2 separate regions of the Homo sapiens genome follow, and region 2 is linked to region 1. The links are contacts of gene promoters, found by promoter capture Hi-C in human tissues and cell types (Jung and others, 2019). All regions are on one chromosome and are shown on one strand. The core of a region is centred on a gene start or on the middle of the fragment in contact, and the rest is flanking DNA. Distances in the headings are between cores, read along the strand shown. Region 1 holds the start of ELAVL2 (ELAV like RNA binding protein 2). Region 2 overlaps ELAVL2 (ELAV like RNA binding protein 2).

The links. Contacts are between HindIII fragments. The study calls those that stand out against the background at their distance.
Region 2: a contact is called between a fragment that was not itself captured here and the fragment with the promoter of ELAVL2 in region 1, in 3 of the 25 tissues and cell types used here (dorsolateral prefrontal cortex, heart left ventricle and mesendoderm cells).

The regions. Positions count from the first base shown.
Region 1 is chr9:23,824,833-23,827,532 of GRCh38, forward strand. ELAVL2 (ELAV like RNA binding protein 2) reads right to left here and starts at 1,408. Exons shown (of 7, transcript NM_004432.5): 1 at 974-1,408. LOC105375992 (a long non-coding RNA gene) reads left to right here and starts at 1,596. Exons shown (of 3, transcript XR_929519.3): 1 at 1,596-1,685. The HindIII fragment of the contact is 12,029 bases long and covers 1-2,700 here.
Region 2 is chr9:23,748,321-23,751,020 of GRCh38, forward strand. All of the region lies in intron 2 of ELAVL2 (ELAV like RNA binding protein 2), which reads right to left. Among named protein-coding and RNA genes, the nearest start is that of ELAVL2, 77 kb to the right of the region's middle. The HindIII fragment of the contact is 5,669 bases long and covers 1-2,700 here.

The DNA of each region.
Region 1 (2,700 bases), core at 158-2,657:
TTCGAGGAAGTGGGGGCGGTAAGGAGGGGGTGAGGGCTACGTGGCCGAGTTGGCTCCTGGGGTGGCTGCGAAGCCTCGCGGCTGCAGAGGGGTTCCCCCTCTCCCCGAAGGCGAAGTCAGCCGCGTAGGACCAAGGACAGGGCTTGGAATCCACTTCCCAGCGCCCAGCACAGCGAGGCTCCCAAGCAGCCGGCACTTCATAGACACAGCTCCAAGGATCTTATTTACGCTTTTCTGAACAAAGGGAATCTCATATCCGGTACAGGCTTAAGAATTCAGCCCCAAATTGGCTATCTTCTTTTAAAACTGAATTATGATAATTGGAGTCCGTGAATCAGAGCCCGCATACAATGATGAGTTCTGACAGCTTCTAACAACCCTAGCCTCAGCCCAGCCCCAGCCCCAGCCCTCAGGCGGCATGTACTTTTTTCAGTCAACTACAACTCGCTGCCTGGTGCAGCATCTAAATTCCATCTGGCAATCCCATCTCCCCAGCACATGCTATCTGGTTAATGCAATTAAGCCTGTGGTTTTCGCTGGTCTAATCTGCCAGTCCAGGCTTCTGATTCCCCTTAATGATTGTAAAGCCTCTCCCGTCCTTCCGTTGCTGAGCCAAAGTAGAGGCATGCATCCCCAACACCCAAGTTATCACTCTCTCCCCACGAAATGAACTTCCGATCTCAATCTTGAAGCTCACTCCACATCTAACCTCCCATTGTACCCCTACTCCCCCCTGGCCACATTTACCACTTAAGTTTCTGCCATGGACATTTACGAATATTCAGTACGCTAAGCATGCGTCCACCGTCTTTTAGTCTAGCTCTTTAAAATTAAAAAAGCAGAACAGTAGCTTTGAAATGAGACAAACATGTGCAATTAACTTCATATTCTGTATTCCGCTCACTTACAGGTTTTCTGGGTTTGCCAGCGCATCGCTGCAACTAATGATTAAAGAAACCAAACCGAAACTTACCTTTCTCCCTTAAGGTTTTTGTGTATGTGTGTTTTTAAAGTAACGGTGCAGTTCTCCCAATAAGGATGAGCAAGAAGCTGCTGGATAGTTCTCTTAAGACAGCACGAAACCTAAACTGTGCTCGGCTTAAAAGAAGCAAATAAAAAGAAACGCTTTCGACCCCAAAGTCCAATGCTAAAAGAAATGGCGAAAAAAAATATGAAAGGGGAGGGGAAACTTAAAAAAGAGTTTAAAAAGACGGAGAGACTACCCTCCTATTGCCGTTCAACTAAACAAAAAGGGGCAAGAAAAACAAACCAAGGAACAAAGAAAAGAGACGAAAGAACGTTTTTTCAAAAAGACGATGTCTTTCTCCTTGTTGCTTTTTAGTAGGTCGCTACAGGAGTAAGCTGCTGCATCTCTAACTAAGAACAGAAATAGGGGGGAGGACGTCTTAAAAGGGAGGTGGACTGGACCACAGATTTATAGCACCGTATCACCAACCCCTTCTCTGCCTCCGCACTGCCGTGTGTGCAGCTGCTCTGCCAGGCTCCTATCCCGGGCAGCACGCGCGGAAGTATACGCCGAATCGCGCCACAACGTAACTTGCTCATCGCCCCAGGATCCTGATTGGTCCACACGCTTCCATTGAGGCCGCCCAGGCGGGGCCGCGTGAGACGATTGGCTATGGGCTTGTGTCACTCTCGAGAGCTCAATGGAGTCCCGTTTCAAGGTAAGTTGTGCGGGGAGGTACACTCTTAACACTGGCGGCGAAGGGAAATGCAAGAAGCAAAAAGAAATGTGGAGAGAGCAACGTGGGAGGGTTGGAACTGTACTATCAGAGTTTGCGATATGGCACGATCTCCTTTCCTCTTAAATCTTTCTGCTTCAGAAAGATTCATTTCCTTTGCCATCACTGCTGCATCTGTGGCATATTTCTTTATAACATTTAACTCTGTCCGGTATGTATGAGTCATTGAGAGCTCCCTCTCTTTGATCTGAGTGAAAGGGATGAATGTACATCCATTATTTGCCCGCATGCCTTTTTTCGATTTGTGTTCAGTACTGTATTTTGTATTAGATGTTAGGTAATTGTATGTCTTTATTTTAATATACGCATATTTCAGATTTATGTGTCCCCATGAACCCCTTTTTAAAGCATCCTTTTAAGATAAAGATGAAGTCAGAAATGCTCTCAAATAAAGCTGCACGGTTTGAATTGGCTTTCACTTCATGTTAGAATAGAAAAGTGTAGGATAAATATCCTATCCAGAAAAAGAGGTATTGAGTAGAGCTAAGGTCCTTCACTTCGAGGTGTCTAATGATTCTCAAAAAGAGCAGCTGTATATAAAACTGGAACAAGCCACTCCTCTGCATTTGCAGACAGGTACAGTCCTTGGACCACACATGTATTGCTGACAGCAAAGATAGTTGAACCTTTATCAGGGCTCTTTCTGTGAGGATTTAAGAAGTTTAACCAGAAGACCAAGTGCTATCAATGCTTCTGCTTCATAGAGGAAGACTACTTTATTACAACCCCATATTTTAACAGCATTCAGGAGACCAAAATACAGTTTTATGCATGATAATTGTTTCTTCCTCTAAGTGAAAGTGAGGTCCTCAGGATCGTCTGGATGTATAAGTAGACACAATATTCATTTGACCTACGTTCTTTTCCAGCCAGCATTTCTCTTTTCAATCTTGAAAGATAGCACCAACTTCCTAGACAGTTTTTACCATTCTTACCA
Region 2 (2,700 bases), core at 191-2,690, 76 kb before region 1:
TGAGGTAACGAGAAGTAGTCTGGGGATGTTACACACTGTGTCCTGTGTCCCAAGACCCCACACGGATGTTTGTCCCTGGATGCTCTGACTCTCTGGGAGAAAAGAGTAGAAAAGTATGAAGGCAGAGAAGACTTCCAGGGAGCAAAACTACTTGGGTTCTTCTTTCTGACCCACTGTACATACACCAACTGCCTCTTCCTCCAGGTAACTTGCCAAGATGGGGAGTGATAAGAGATTGAAGGCAATTTTCAAAAGAATAAAACAAGCTTGAAACCAGGCAGAACAACTGCAAAGGGGGTAAGATGAAGTCCCTGCAAGTAGTCAGCAATCTGGCAAAATATTGCACAAATTCAGTATTTTAATTGGACGTTTCTTTTACGGGGAATGTGGCATGAACTAAATTTGAAGCCAGGCTACTTATTTCAGGGGGAGGGGTTGGTCCCTAAAGCCACTTGGAGAGGAAGAGAAATAAAACATACAGAAGAGTCTACAGCCCAAGGGGAAAAAAACTAGTATCTCCTGAAAACAATTATCATAATTTACTTTCAAAATACTTTGGTATATCAAATGTTGTATGATTTCATTTATATGGGGTACCGAGAATAGGCAAATTCATAGAGACACAGAAAATATAATGGTTACCAAAGGCTGGGAGCAAAGGAGGTGGGTGAGGAGTTACTGTTTGATGGTTACAGAGTTTCTATCTGGGATGATGACAAGGTACTGGAAATGGATAAGGGTGACGGCTGCATAATACTGTGAATGTGCTTAATGTCACTGAACTGTAAACTTGAAAAGGTTCAAATGATAAATTTTATGTTATATTTTGCCACAATAAAAACATTTCTTTTTAAAGTTTAGAATTAATCTGATGACACGTGTGCACCAGCCATTTAAGCTTTAATTCTGGGTGGTCATCTAACATACTATCATTAATGCACAATCCAGGATTAGTTAACTAGTATAATACAAGTAGGCTAAAATTCAAGTGACTAGTGTAAGCCTACATACTATCCATACCTAAATCAACAACCAATTCTCTGCTGATTCACCTAATGGATGTCAAAATAGGGTTTTGTTCTGTAAGCCAGTTATTTGTTAATTAGCATAACGAGTGTTAGAAATGGAGTCTTACCGGTAAAATTAAAGGAGTTCAAGATACGCAGATGGGCTAAATTAGTTTAGAGACACTTCCCACCTTCGTATAAACAGGGCACAAAATCCAAGGTGGCATAATCCAAGGTGGTTATATCTTTATGGAGAGAACCCCTAAATGTTAAATGGTCCTGGGTTTCAGTCTTTGTTTAAAGGGATTTCTTTTTGCATGATGCAAAGTGAGGGTGCAGAACGTGACTTTTGGGATATTGTTAGCCTCCGGTGAACATTTCATTTAAAGTGTGTTCAAAGCACTTAAAAAAGAAGAGAGAAGTGGGACTTTACCAAGCTTTCAGAAAAGGCTTCTCCATCAATTTGGTCCTGCTTGCTAGATAGAGGTTTCTATGTGTGGTGGGATCTGGCCTGAGACCTTCTTTCATTATAATCTATAGAGCAACTAACGCTCACCCTTCCTCCTTTGGTGCCTACTAACAACTACGCAAAATTACCTAAGAGCTGTTATTCACTATACTAACAGGTCCATTTAATAAACCCAGTCTCAAGGAGTCACTGGTCATGAACACAGTGGCCTCCAAGGGTACTGTCTTAAAAAAGGAAAAAAAAAAAAAAGACTCTTTAAAAGTCGGTTGTCCAACTATAAAGGCTAGGAAAGAATATTAGACATCCTCCTTACTTTGATGGCTATATCCAAATATATTGTTTTCTATAAGCATTCAGAGAACTAAAATATCAAATAGAGTAAGAAACTAACCCCAGAAGATTCCATATTCTACTTTTAAGTAGCACATCAGGACTAGCTTTGTATGTTCTAGAGCTGGGGATATAATGGAATGTTATCACGCCTTTTTGCAAAGGCTCCCAATTTCCAGCACTTAAAAAAATACACATATTGATATAAAACACAGTAACAAATCGGTATTAACAATTCTGTATTTTAATCCTATTCCAATATGTATAAAAGGGCTTACCCCCATAAAAAAAGGACAACAAATAATAAAGAATATAAAGGTCTAAAAACAAACCTGGTATAACATTGTTAGATTTTAAGATATTAGATCCCAAATCATTCTACTTGAGAAGGTAGTACACTGTCTGCACCATATAATGGCAAAATCACTTGGCACCATGTTTAAAAAGAGCTAACCTAATACTCAGGTTCACAAAAGAAAAAAAAGACAATTTTAGAGGCAGGATTTGGGAAGTCATTTAGGAGAGCCCTTGTCTACATGAGAAGATGTCAATTGATTTGATACACCATCAGTCTCTCATTTATATTCAAAATGTTTAGATACATTTAAAGTAGAATAAGAGCAAACTACAATTCATTTAAATGGAATGAAAAAAGCTCCCATGGCTTACTTAGTACCAGGGTTAGGAAAAAGGATTCGTACGACAGTACCCTTGGAGGCAACTCCTTAAGACTGGATTTAAAGCATTAAAATGTGAGGAAATAAAACTGTTCTCTCAGGCTCCAGTGACCTTAAAAACAGTGCAGTGATTCTGATTTACCAGTTTACACACAGCTATGCCTCCCTTAAACTTTACTTTAAAAGGAGGATTTGACTTTCTCAGTATTAAGTCCAA